Regions from separate parts of the Homo sapiens genome. Here regions 1, 2 and 3 are each linked to region 4. The links are contacts of gene promoters, found by promoter capture Hi-C in human tissues and cell types (Jung and others, 2019). All regions are on one chromosome and are shown on one strand. The core of a region is centred on a gene start or on the middle of the fragment in contact, and the rest is flanking DNA. Distances in the headings are between cores, read along the strand shown.

What was found. Contacts are between HindIII fragments. The study calls those that stand out against the background at their distance.
Region 1: a fragment that was not itself captured here is called in contact with the fragment with the promoter of GUCA2A in region 4 in 1 of the 25 tissues and cell types used here (dorsolateral prefrontal cortex).
Region 2: a fragment that was not itself captured here is called in contact with the fragment with the promoter of GUCA2A in region 4 in 2 of the 25 tissues and cell types used here (aorta and dorsolateral prefrontal cortex).
Region 3: a fragment that was not itself captured here is called in contact with the fragment with the promoter of GUCA2A in region 4 in 2 of the 25 tissues and cell types used here (dorsolateral prefrontal cortex and lymphoblastoid cells).

Annotation. Positions count from the first base shown.
Region 1 is chr1:41,830,595-41,834,110 of GRCh38, reverse strand. The region is part of intron 1 of HIVEP3 (HIVEP zinc finger 3); the gene reads left to right. Among named protein-coding and RNA genes, the nearest start is that of HIVEP3, 87 kb to the left of the region's middle. The HindIII fragment of the contact is 4,895 bases long and covers 1-3,516 here.
Region 2 is chr1:42,433,227-42,436,603 of GRCh38, reverse strand. It overlaps ZMYND12 (zinc finger MYND-type containing 12), which reads left to right. Exons shown (of 8, transcript NM_032257.5): 5 at 61-183; 6 at 1,219-1,330; 7 at 3,316-3,377. Among named protein-coding and RNA genes, the nearest start is that of ZMYND12, 21 kb to the left of the region's middle. The HindIII fragment of the contact is 6,264 bases long and covers 1-3,377 here.
Region 3 is chr1:41,847,604-41,851,080 of GRCh38, reverse strand. All of the region lies in intron 1 of HIVEP3 (HIVEP zinc finger 3), which reads left to right. Among named protein-coding and RNA genes, the nearest start is that of HIVEP3, 70 kb to the left of the region's middle. The HindIII fragment of the contact is 7,187 bases long and covers 1-3,477 here.
Region 4 is chr1:42,163,235-42,166,697 of GRCh38, reverse strand. GUCA2A (guanylate cyclase activator 2A) reads left to right here and starts at 1,953. Exons shown (of 3, transcript NM_033553.3): 1 at 1,953-2,060; 2 at 3,088-3,295. The coding sequence starts at 1,986. RefSeq lists an enhancer at 1,129-2,093. The HindIII fragment of the contact is 10,088 bases long and covers 1-3,463 here.

The sequences.
Region 1 (3,516 bases), core at 932-3,431, 330 kb after region 4:
GGGAGCCGGGCTCACTGGTCTCAGGAGGCCCTTTCCAGCCTCTTGACCTTTCTTATTCTGTGACCATGCTGGGGATTCCTGGTCACACCTCTTACAGGTAGGAAAGCAGCCCTCAGGGAGCAGGAGGGAGGTCCTTGCTAGGGTCACACCAGGTGGTCAAGTCTGGGTCACAATACTACCCCCTCGCCATTTCACAAGCTGGAGGCTCCCACGCTGAGCAGGCTCGGTAGCTTCTTTGAAGGATTTTCCTTTGTGTGTTTATCAGATCTTGGATTTTCCACCATGGTCAGCTTGTGGTTAGTTATTATCCAGATGAGCTGGGTACCACCCACAGAATGACTTGGGGAAAGGAGGAGCCACTGTGTGTGGACCTTATCACTGTGGGCTCAGGCGTGCTTCTTGTGTCCATCATGATGTTTGATGCCAGCAGAGTTCAGGAGAGGCTCTGGAGCCATGTCCAGCTCCTCCTTGAGCCCTCAGATTCTGCTGCTTTTATAATGGTAATTACAATCCTGGAGGGGCAGAGGAGAGGGCATAGACTTTGGAGTCAGTTGTCCCTAGGTTCAGGCCTTATCTCTACCATTCGTGCCTTTGTGCTTTGGACTAAATTCCTTAGCCTTTCTGAGCATTGTTTCCTTGCCTCTAGGATAGGAACAGTATCAACCTCTTACTTTAGTTTTTTTCCTTCTCTAAGCCATTGAGCCTCAAATTGAGTTGGTCAGTGGACTCAAGACCTCAAAAACCAGCCCCCTCATGTGGCTTTGCATTGTGTGGGAAGCTGCACTCCATGACCCCTAAGTTTCCTACCAATGCTGGAGCTATAAATTAATGTCAAGAACAAAATACTTTGGTCAGCAGGGCCATCCAGAGACCCTGGTGGACCCCACTTTTAGAGCCACTGTTCCAGGCATTTGCTCCTTTGAACTTGTTGAACCTGTACATTCTGGATTGGCTTTGGGGGCCCTGATAATAGGAAGACCTTGACTTTGCTTCTCATTGCAGAATACTTGAAGGGTTTATTTTAGCTGAATTATTTCCGTGCCTTCTCCCACCCCTAAAATGAAGAGCTTCTACTTGCATTTGTAGGATCTGTCCCTAGACCAGAGCCCTCATTTGTTCTAAGAAGGAGTTGGACTCCCAGTGCCCATGTGACAGGTGCAGAAGCAAAATCTGGATCCATTCCTAGACCTCAGCCAGACCCCTATGTGGGAGGAATAATGGGAGTGGAGGGTAAAATCAGCATTGGTTTTGGAACCAGACAGATCTCATTTAAAATCTGGGCTTCAGCATTTACTGCTTTAGTAGTTTGAGGGTGTATTAGGCAGTCTCAGTTTCCTTATCTGTAAAATGTGAATCAGAGATTGTTGTGAAGATTAAATTACATAACATTTAAAGTACTTGGCACTTTGAACACTTACTAAATATCTACTATGTGCCAGGCACCACTGCTTTGTGCTGGCTCAAAGACTCACATCCTAGAGGGAAAAAGACGAGTGGATAAGCAAATTTCTGTCCCCTTGCTTTTGAGTTTTCTGGTTTATAAAGTGCTTTCACACACACCCAGTAATTTTTGTTTTTTTGAGACTGGGTCTCACTGTGTCATCCAGGCTGGAGTGCAGTGGCATGATCTTGGCTCACTGCAGCCTCTGTGTTCTAGGCTCAAGTGATCCTCCCACCTCAGCCTCCCGAGTAGCTGGGACTATAGGGGCACACCACCATGCCTGGCTAATTTTTTAAAAAATTTTTGTAGAGACAGGGTCTTGCCACATTGCCCAGGCTGGTCTTGAACTCCTGGGCTTATGTGATCCTCCCACCTTGGCCTCCCAAAGGGCTGGGATCACAGGCATGAGTGAGCCTGTGAGGAGAGGTCACTTAGCCATGGTCTCATTGCCAGCATTTGCCAGGGCTGGACCAGAGGCTAGTTTCTGACTTTTAGCAGGAGTTCCTTCTTCTGTACTTTTACAACTGAAAGCCTGAGCCATAGGCTAGAAGCATCAACATCACCTAGAAATAGTTAGAAATGCAGATCTCGAGGCTGACCCCAAACATTCTGATTCAGAATCTGAATTTTAAGAAAATTGAGACAGCTCTAGTGTAGTGGATAAATGGCAACGCTCTAGACCCTGACTGTCCAGATTCCAACCCTGGCTCCATCACTTACTTATTAGTTCGATGACTTTGGGTAGATTAGGTAAATCTCAGTGCTTCTGTGTCCTTAACTCCAAGGTGGGGTTAAGAGTCCCACCTCAAACTGACTGTTGTTTGGATTAAATGAGACAGATGTTAAGAGCCAGCATTCCTTGAATGCTTGCTCCAGGCCAGGTGAGGTGTTCACTGCCTCCCATGAGCACAGACTCATGCCTGGTGCACAGGCAGCCTCAACCAGTGTTCACTTTTTCATTACCTCGTGGGACTTGAGAAAGAGACTTAGTTCTCATGATATTTATGCAAATAGGAGAATGGTTATTTCACAGTGCTCTAAAGCTTTGATGAACCCCATGTTGAACATATCCTTAACTGCAGCGTCTCACATGAAAGTTTTTCTAGCATTGGTATAATAATGAAATTGGCATCTGAAAGCCGATACTCATTGGATATTGTGAAATGCTCTGGGAAGCTCCGTTTCAGCATAAAAAACTGTATGATTCCCATAGAATGTAGTTTATAGACAGAACAATTCCAAGCTGAATAACCATGTAAAATTATAGGATGCTGGAGCTGTCACAATTTCTAGTGATCATCACATTCTACCATCTCATTCCGCAGATGAGAAAACTGAGGCTCAGAGAAGTCAGGTGGCTTGCCTGAGGTCACCCAGATGGTTAATGGCAGAAACAGAGCTGGAAATGAGGGTTTCCCACTCTCAGCCCAGTTCTTCCCACTATGAATGTGTGTGCAGATTCTCATTCATTCATTCAATAAATATTTCTTAGGAGCTTACATGGTGCTGGGTGCTGTTTAGAAGCTGGAGATAGTAGTGAGCAGTATAGCAAGGTATTTGTCCTCTGCAGTTCACATCCTCATGTGAGAGTGAGAAAAAACAATAAGAAAAAAAGAACAAGATGACTTCAGATGTGGATGACTGCATAGGAGGAGACAAAATGGGGAAATATGCTAGCAATGATTTGGGAATAGTTGGACAACACTGCCAGAGAAGTCATCTCTGAGATAGTACATTTGAGACAAGCCATGAATAAAGTGAGTCACGAACGCGTAGGGATAAGAAGCTTCCAGCAAGAGCCAACATACTCCCACCTCCCAGCTCTTACTCCTGGTACCCACTGTCACAGGTTGGCTTCCTCAGAAACAGACTCAGAGATGATGGATCTATGTGTAGGAAGTTCACTGGGGTGGGAGGGACACAGGGTGGGGGAGAGGGAAAAGTTGAACTGTGATGCAATTCCAACAAGGGCCTGAGTCCATGCTACAGAGTTCTGGAGCTGAAATGGCTCTTTAGAGTTGTCCCACATTGCGGCAAAGGAGCCAGGTCTTTGTCCCTGTGCGAGTGATCAGTCA
Region 2 (3,377 bases), core at 1-2,500, 270 kb before region 4:
TTATCAGATATATGATTTGCAAAAGGAACTCAAGCACTCTCCTTCTTCCTTCTGCTATAGATTTATTTTGCCAGTTGTGCATTTGGAACAGAGGACATTAGGACTTCAGGAGGCTACTTCCACCTGGCTAATATATTCTATGACCTTAAAAAGTTGGACCTGGCAGACACATTGTACACCAAGGTGAGCTGGGGAATGTGGGAGCTGAGCCTTCACTCTTAGGCTTGGTGTCTTACAACTTGTATTAGACTATTCATGAAAAACATACCATTCATGAGAAAGAGAGGCACAGAGAGATGAAGTGGCTTGCCCAAGACTATATAGCCTGATACATGATATACTCCATTTTCTTTCTTCCAGTGTCTCCACTACCAAAATAGACTAACCCTTAACATCCGTAGGGTGATTAACGAATAATGAAGGACAGGTCAGTAAGAGCCAAACCCCTTCAGATAGACTGTTGTATGCTGTGTCATACCCATAGCAGCAAGCTAATGTGGGCTTATTGAAGTGTGCGATAGAGAAGGAGATTTCCAAGGGAAGTCTGTTGCTACAAGATCCTGTCAAGGGATCCAAGAACATGAGAAATTTCCATATTTACATGTAAAATATTTTAAACTGTTTCCAATATATTAAAATGTCAGCTGTATCCATATAGTAACACCTCACTTAGCAGGCAATCATTTGTGTAATAAATGTGTAATACAGGCTTTCTGCTGATTGTTGATTCATGTTTTAGACCTGCTTCTGAGAAAGAGGCATTTTGCTGTAGTTTAAAAGCTTTAGAATCAGATAGACCAGGGTTTAAATTCTGGCTATGCCACTTAACAGCTCTTACCAGAAGTCGTGTGTGATCTTCTCTGAGCCTCGGTTTATTTACATGTAAAATGGGAATAATAAGAATATTACATCAGGATGTTGTGAGGATGTGAAGGTTTCGTGTTGTGTGTGCTATACAAAAGATAACCACTGTTATTAGACCCCACTAGGGCTACCCCAAGATGAGCTGCCACAGGCCCTTTTCAGCCCATCACTTGTCACACTTACCTTGGCCAGGCCTGTTTGGGCTCCTAGGGTTCCCTCTGCCTCCAGGCACAGTAAGAGAGAGAACCTCCAGGTTGTCCAGAAGCCCGGCCAAATGCGCTACTCTCCTCACCTGCCTGGTCCGACGGCTGAGGTCTGGCCTGCTTGTTGTATTACCATCTCTTTTCCCAACAGGTCTCTGAGATCTGGCATGCATATTTGAACAATCACTATCAAGTCCTCTCACAGGCTCACATCCAACAAATGGATTTACTGGGCAAACTATTTGAGAATGACACTGGCTTGGGTAAGTGGCAGTTTTCCCTGAAGGGAGAGCAGTGACTTCATCTCACCCAATACACAGACCTTGTCCCTAAGAGGGAAAGCAGCTGTCCCTGTCATGAAGCACACCATTGCCACCTTCCCCATGTTGCTGATGGAGAAAACTGAGACACGGGGATCAAAGAGATTTTACCAGTGTTGGGAAGAATTCAGATCCCTATCATCACACATAGCCATTCGGGGGTTACTAAGGGACAGATTTAGAGGGAAAAAAAGACCACATCAAAGCCCCCTGTGATTTCTGCAGAGCATCCATTTCTATGTTATCCCTCCAGGGCAGCAGTCCCAATCTCTCCCTGGCACCAGGGACCCGTTTCATGGAAGACAATTTTTCCATGGACTGGGGGGCGTGGGAGGAATGGTTTCAGGAGAATTCAAGTGCATTACATTTATTGTGTACTATGTTTTTATTATTATTAATATATTGTAATATATAATGAAATAATTATACCATGCATCATAATGTAGAATCAGTGGGAGCCCTGAGCTTGTTTTCCTGCAACTAGATGGTCCCATCTGGGAGTGATGGGTGACAGTGACAGATCATCAGGCATTAGATTCTCATAAGGAGTGTACATCCTAGATCCTTTGCATGCACAGTTCACAATAGGGTTCACGCTCCTAAGAGAATCTGATGCTGCTGCTGAACTGACAGGAGGTGGAGCTCAGGTGGTAATGCAAGCAATGGGGAGTGGCTGTAAATACAGATGAAGCTTTACTCGCCCCTACCACCCCTGCTCACCACCTGCTGTGCAGCCCGATTCCTAACAGGCCACAAAACAGTTCTGGTCCATGGCCTGGGGGTTGGGGACTCTTGCTCCAGGACACGTAAGCCAAGGTAGACTCTACACAGAAGGTGCATTGCTGATTTCTTCTGGTGCCTTAACTTCATGCTTTACTGAACAGTGAGCTTCTCAGTGGCAGGGCCCAGTTGGATTAAACTGTATTCCCCGGGCCAGCAAAGGGCTAAGTGTTGAATAGTACCGTACAGCATCATGCCCTCAGAGACAATGAAAAGACACAGAGGATCTAGTTTCTGCTCAAAAGAGACATACAGTGCAGTTGGTGATATAGAACCTATAGGCAATAACAAAAGAACATTCCTGTGAGTACAAATTATGTTACAAGATGAGTCCCAGAATGAAGAGGTGAGGACAGCTGGGTGGTGTTGAAGAAGGAAGACTCTTTGGAGGAGAGGTTTTGAGCTAAAGTTTAAAAAATTAATAACTTTATTGAATTTTCTCTCATTATGTAAATAGTTCATGTTATAGCTGAAAACTTGGAAATCATAGATATCCAAAGATAGCCAACCTTAACATGATGGTGTATATCCTTTTCGTCTTTTTCTCTAAGCTTAGTACTTGTATAAGTGCTTTTAAATGCATGTAGTGACTTCTCAGTAAATGATGACTAAAGTAGGACCAAAAACTACTGGGGAAAATAGTAAACAGACTCTCAGAGGGAAGCATGAAGGTTGTTGCTTACGCATCTATGGCCTAGACGAGAAGAGTTAAGCTGCTGCAGCTGCAAGAAGTCCCTTCCCCCAGTTCTCTCCTCTCAGCTGTAGAGTGGAATCTGAGTTGGACCCAAGGAATCTGCCTGTGGCAGATTATCTGTGTTTGTAAGCCCAAGAGATCTAGAGTTCAGGACTCCGAAAGAGAGAAACCTTAGCAACTTTGGGACCTGTGGGAGTGAGCCTATTTTTAGGCTACTCTGATAATGGCATGCTAAGCAAAGCTGGAAAGCGGTCTGAAACTCCTGCTTCGGAGCTTCCTGCTTTGCACCTGGAGGGAGTCCTCTAGGTAAAAAACTTGCTGTAATTGGTGCTATTTCCACCAGTGCCCTTGGGAAGGCTTCAGCAGACCAGGCGCTTTAACAGCTGAGTGCTTTTGATGAGGGCAGACTCAGTTGCCAAGAGCCTGTTTTTTCTTTCTTCCCCTTCCAATGCAGATGAAGCCCAAGAAGCAGAAGCCATTCGCATCCTGACTTCAATCTTGAACATTCGAGAATCT
Region 3 (3,477 bases), core at 79-2,578, 310 kb after region 4:
TAGTTCTAGGGCTATAAGGAGTGTAGAGAAGGCTGATGAGATGCAGTGTAACTGGCAGGAGGGGAGTGAGAACTACTTGGGTAGATGATCAGGAGATACTCTGCAAGAGGAAACATACAGAAGGAGCCTGACATGAGAAAACTGGGGCAGCAGTTTTCCAGGAAGAGGGACCAGCACAGGTCCAAGTTGAAACTCAGAATGGAATTTTAGGAAATTATATTCTTCATGATGGTTAGATCCTGTGGGCTATCATCACTGCAGTTCAACAATGTGGTGCCTAGTAGGAAGAGTTCTCCCAGGAACCCTCCACGTGTGCTATGGGATTTCTGAGAAAACCAGTTCTGAGTTCTAGGCAGTGGACTCACAGTTGAACTTGGAGGGAACCAAGAATTGCTTCCATCATAGCCTTACTAAGAAATGACCATGGCATGGCCTGAGTGCTTCGGCATGGAGGACCAGAAGGGGAAGCCCTAATTTGCCAGTTGCAGACTCTTGAGCCTTGTGACTCTAATGACGACAAAAATTAGGAGATTTTCTAGGACTCCACGTTTGCGATTTTGAGAGTAGTGCTGCTGGGGTTCCTGGTTTGGGTTCTATTGATTGTTTCATTGTTTCTGTGTGCAAGTTACCCTCTCTAAGCTTAGTTTAATTAATATTATATTAAGTGAGGTAGTTAGATTATATGAACCCTAAGGCTCCTTTTATTCTTAACCTTAAAATAAAAACATTTTGTAAACAGTTTTTCTTTGTGTGTGTGGTGGCCTTTTCTGTGCCTCTGCTTTGGATGAGGTTACAGGGCTGAGTGCGAGTGAGTCATTAGTGGTTCCTTTGATATAAGACAGGTGATACTATTGAACACTGTTGGTGGTAGACCAGTGGTTCTCAAAGTGTGGTCTCTGGACCAGCAATAGCTGGGCTTGGGAACTTGTTAGAAACTCTAGCTGTCAGCCTCCACCCCAGACCTACTGATTAAAAAACCGTAGGAGTGTAACCAAAACTCTGTGTTTTAACAAAGTCTACAAATGATTCTGATGCATGCTAAAGTTTAGGAACCACTAGAGTAGAGTATGTGCTTTAAGATTTGGGTCTACCGGCCAGGCGTGGTGTCTCATGCCTGTAATCCCAGCACTTTAGGAGGCCAAGGTGGGTGGATCCCAAGGTCAGGAGTTTGAGACCAGCCTGGCCAACATGGTGAAACCCCATGTCTACTAAAAATACAAAAATTAGCTGGGCATGGTGGTGCATGCCTGTAGTCCCAGATACTCGGGAGGGTGAGGCAGGAGAATTGCTTGAACCCAGGAGGCAGAGGTTGCAGTGAGCCGAGATTGCGCCATTGCACTCCAGCCTGGGCGACAGGGCAAGACTTGGAAAAAAAAAAAAAAAAGATTTGGGTCTACCACTGATGGATCCTTACATTCCAGTCACTGTCATGGTCACAGCAAGTAGTTGCATGTCTGTGCAAATATTGCAATAAGATGTTTATTCAGCTTGGCTTGGTGAACAGTCCTGTGACTCTAAAGCAGAAAATGTTCCTGGCCTGTGCTAGGACTGGACCCACACTCTCCTCCTTGGTATTATGTCCCATCCACTCCTCTAGGTGAGCATCTGCATGGAGGAGGGGTTAGCAAGGAGGCAGGCTGCTTCCAGAAGTTGTGACAGAGTGCTGTTGGATGTGCTTCTGGGGAGACTGATGTAATTGGAGAAGTTTGTGCATGGTTAGTTTCCACACATTTTTAAAGTATGAAACTGTCTTGGGTTTCTAAGTCCTTGGTAGATATATCTGCGTGCATCTGTCGTGAAGATCAGTGGTGATGAAAGGTCTCAGGTGCCATAGAATAAGCAATCTGGTGACCCTGCTGCACACTGAGTTTAGAGTTCTGATTCAGTTTGGTTTCCCTTATCTAAATGTCCACTCGTGAACTAGAATGAGGTGACCAGATGGTCCAGATCACCCAGGACTGCCCCGTGTTTCCCCTTCCTGTCCCTCTCAGTCTGGTGTCTCGGATTTGTTCCTGTGTTGCCCACTCCTGCTGGATCTTGTCCAGTCGAGGGACAAACGTCCTGAAGAATGGGAAGAAAGGAGGTTCTGAAGGCACAGATTCCAATACCATGCCAGAGGTTGAGGACACTGGTGCTTGAAGGGAAACTGGCACACTCTGGAGCCCCAAGAAGAGCTGGAGCTGGAGGCATGCGGCCCACGAAGGGTAGAAGTAAGTTCATTTCTCTGGTAGGGCTTAGGGGAGGGGTAGTCACAGGTAGGGCTTGGGATGTGGGGCTGGGATGGCTCCTACAGGGCCAGAAGGCAAAGAAAGGGCAGCAGATGGGCACAGCAGGGACAAGGGTGTGGTGAGGAATCTGACTGCTCCAGCCCAAGCTGGCATGGCCTCTCTGCTCTCGCCTTCTGCCCTCTTTCTGTAATCTTTCATCTCTGAGGATGTTGGGCCATTCCTGGGTCCCTCCTTCTTCCTGCAATTCTCTCTACCCTTCCACCCTGTTGCCCTCTCCCCTCCCTCGCTTCCTATTGTGTCCTGCCCACTGCCGATTCCATCCTCCTTATCTCATGTCTATCCATGATTGACATGATGGAAATGGCACAGTAGAGTCCAATGGTGATAAGCACTCTCCGTGTTTGCAGGTACCAGCCATGACCAAGAGCCCTTCACATCATCTGGCAATCCATCCAGAACCCACTGAATGGAGGACAGCACAGCGAGGTCTTTCTCATTTTGTAACTGCAAAAGCTGGAACAAGAGCCAGAGAAGCCAAAGAAGCAGTACAAGTCCAACAGCTTTTAGAATAACCCTGAGAAAATGGTTGAATTTTGACCAGTTTTGCAATTGGATACTATGAGAAGAGACCTTCCCTCCTGCACTGGATTTCATCATCATACCTGGAGGCCATTCCTCATGGGACTTTGGCCATCTCATATCCACCTTTAAGCATGTTATTCCCATTTCAGCTGTGGTAGCTCTGGGTATCCTTCCCTAGGAGAAAATATTAATCTTTTCTCCCTCTGAGTTCTGGATTAAACTGTCTTATCTGAAACTGGGTCACTTTAGGCTAGAAGCACCACTAGACATTCCTGTTCTCAGAAGTTGCCAAGTTCATGTCATATCTGTTTCATTGTTAACGGGATCCACTTCTGCAAGAGGCTGCCTGGCCAGATCAGTGTGTCTCCTGGTCAGCTCCTTGATGCCCTTCTCCTCTCCCCTGCCCAATCCCAGCTGAGACTTGCACTGTGGTGACTCTGTCCCCTCCTGGTGCTTTGACTGGATGTGTGAGAGAAAGTATGGTCTGTGGCACTGACATCTTTGTGTGTTTGGAGGTGACTGGAACACGGATCCACCCCTGGAGGAAGGTGGCCGTGAAGGAGGCCAGCCTCAGCTCAGCGTTCTACTCTCATCGCTCTTACTCCCGCCTTTTTAGTGCCTGCCCTACTCCAGGATAATTGTGCTTTTCTTTTTTCAGTTAAATGTT
Region 4 (3,463 bases), core at 704-3,203:
TCAGCACACACACACCTCAGCGCATACATGCACCTCAGTGTATACACACACCTCGGCACACACACGCACAACACAGCAGATGCACTCAGCTCAGCATACACACACACACCTCAGTGCACATACACACACATATCTCAGTGCATATACACACATGAGCATACACACACACATACCTCAGTGCACATACACACACCCCAGCAGACACCCCAGCAGACACACATCCCAGCAAACACACACACCTCGGTGTACACACACGCGCCTGTGTATATACACACTGACACACACACACCTCGATGTATATATGCACACCTCCTTGCACAGACACAGATACCTTGGTGTACACGGACACACATATACCCCTCAGCATACACACACATACACCTCAGCATATATACACATACACTCCTCAGTGTACACACATGCCTCAGCACACACACACCTTCAGCACAAGCACACATACAAACACACCTTGGCTACACACACCCATCAGGGTATATACAGACACCTTGGCATACACAGACATACACATCTCCGCAGACACACCCCCCCTTAACACACACACACACACACACACACACACACTCACCAGAAAGGGGTGGGAAATCCAGTGCAGCTGTGAGGACTGCCCTGGGAGCTGGGCCAGGAGCTACCTGCCCCTCCCTGAGGGCCTTGTCCCTGCAGTTCCCTCCTGGTCAGGCCCTGCTCTCTCCAATTCCCTCTTCAGTGTTGACTCTCCCCACCCAGGAATTCCTGCCCAACCTCCCGCCCTAGGGCTGTCCTGGCATCGGGCCAGGTTGGCTGAGTAGAAAGATGACAATCCCAGGGCTACCCTTTCTCCTGTGTCCTGGGGATTCCTGCTCACAACAGCACACAGTGAATGCACGCTGCCCTGAGGGCGCAGTCTGAATGGGGTCAGAGTCTATAGGGGCGCGGGCACACCCAAGCAATTCCCCAGTGAGATCCGCGGAAAGGGGACTGTATCTGCAGGGGCAAGGGGGGCGGGCGGATTGGGGAGGAGCTCATTCGAGGACACCCTGAGGCTGCAGGGCAGGCAGGACAGGATGGGGACCAGCACAGGATGGGGACAGCCTGTGACTCAGACAGGCAGGAGGTCACCAGAGGGGCCAGGGAGGACCAGGAGCTGCTGTGGCTGCTAATAATATGGGAATGGACCTCTGCTGAGCACCTTCTGTGTGCCAGGCATTGAGCTAAATGTTTTTAAAACCTCACTTGATTCTCCAAACAGTAATGCCTACCACACACCTACCCCATGAGGTAGGTATTATTTTTGGTTCCCACAGGGGACACAAGGGACAACGAGACTCAGAGAGGGGAAAGCATTGGCCCAAGTTCACACGCCTCACAACTGGGCAGTAGGTGGAACGGAACCCAGGCTGTGCGGAGGGCTTCCTTGAGGTCGCGGCAATCAAACCCAGACCCTGACTTGCCCTGCAGCCTCCCCCGTGGAATTTCTCACATTTCCCTGAATATTCCAGGCCCGTCTCACCTCCTGGCTGTCCCTTTGGCATGAAATGGCCTTCTGTCCTCAGTCCCTTCTCTGGGAAAACTTCCACCCATTCTCCAGAGCTCAGCCCCCAGTGCAGCCCCGTCACCTCATCCTAGGATCACCCCACCCTAATCGCCCTGCGTTTCACTGTCGGGCTGGGCCCCCCTCCTCAAGGGCAGGGTCTGCCGGCCCCACACAGCAGCACAGGGCAGTCGTGAGTGAATGTGCCTTGTTGGTGAATGAATGCAGGACCCAGCCCGGCTGTGGGTCAAAGTAGGTGCTCAGGGAGGGGCCGGGGCCCCCCCTGCCTGGCTCTTATCTCCTAGGGCTGTCTCGAGCCTTATCTGATAAGGCCTGACAGGTGAGCAGATGAGACTGACAGAGGCTTCCAGGTTACTCAGTAACCTGCCCTCTTTAAAAGTCCCGCCGCTTCCCCCTGGCATCCAGAACAGCCACCCCTCTCTCGGGCACTGCTGCCATGAATGCCTTCCTGCTCTCCGCACTGTGCCTCCTTGGGGCCTGGGCCGCCTTGGCAGGAGGGGTCACCGTGCAGGTGAGTCCTGTGTCCCTACCCCGGCCCAGCTGGCTCCCTGCCCCTAGTGCCCAGGTCTGGTCCCCTGAGAGAGTACCTCCTCTTTGGGGCTGGATTGAGGGTGTGTGTCCCAGGCTTGGCCTTCTTCGAGGAGCTCCTGCTCAGTCCAGCCACACACACACCTTTCCCTTCAACTTTGGAGGAGAAAGAAACCCAGTGGAGGGAAGAGGAATAACCATATGGGGAAGGCGGGGAGTTGGCCAATTTACTGAGTGTCCTATGTGCCGGCTCCTTCCCCAGCCCCTCACTGTGGCTCCACTATCAACCTGGAAGAAAGGGATCATTAGTCCCATTTTACAGAGGGGAAAACTGAGCCTCACAAAGGTTCTGTAACAGGCCATGGGCACATGGCTGTGGGAAGTGCAGGAGCTGGATTTAAATCCAGACCTTACTCCTCAGTGGGTCCCAGGAACCACATGGACACCCTGGAGGTCCTGACAGATGGGTATGCCTACCAGTGCCAATGCTGGCGACAGGCCAAGCTGGCACCTAGCGGGGGCCCTGATCTCTATCAAAGCCAGATTCCGGGAGGCCTTTTATTGCTTCTCAAACCAAAACCAGGCTGCAGGCTGGAGCTGGGGGCCCAGTAATCAGCCGCACCGCTCTCAGGCAGGGGAAAGACAGCCTGGGCTTGGCCACGTGGAACTACGATGCCTGGGTGCTGGTCCTTTGCCTCTCCCTAAAAATCAGCACACTGGCTCCTACTCATTAGGCACCTATGGTGTTCCTGGAGCTTCACACCCATTTTCTCCATTCCCCATACAACATGCAGAATTTGCGGGTTCCAGAGTGTCCAGCATCACGGAGCCAAGCCAGGACGTGGGGCCTGAACTCTGCCCCTCACAGTGCCCCACTGTGGATCGCCTGGCTCCCATATGCCACGAACACTGCCTGTGAGCACCACTGGGCTGGACCGGGGCCAGCACGGGGGGCACAGCCAGGAAGCAGGCTGCAGCCTGGCCTCATGCTCTGGGCTTCTCTCTTCCAGGATGGAAATTTCTCCTTTTCTCTGGAGTCAGTGAAGAAGCTCAAAGACCTCCAGGAGCCCCAGGAGCCCAGGGTTGGGAAACTCAGGAACTTTGCACCCATCCCTGGTGAACCTGTGGTTCCCATCCTCTGTAGCAACCCGAACTTTCCAGAAGAACTCAAGCCTCTCTGCAAGGAGCCCAATGCCCAGGAGATACTTCAGAGGCTGGGTGAGCAGCCTCCTTCCTCTCTGATTGGTGGGGTTCGGGAATACTGTGGTGGCACTTGAGGAAGAGATGTGCTCTGATTGGTGGGATTTGGAGGAAGGGCTCAGCTCTGACTGGTGGAACTAGGGAGCTTGGCTCTGATTGGTGGGTCTGTTCCATGCCCACTTCAAT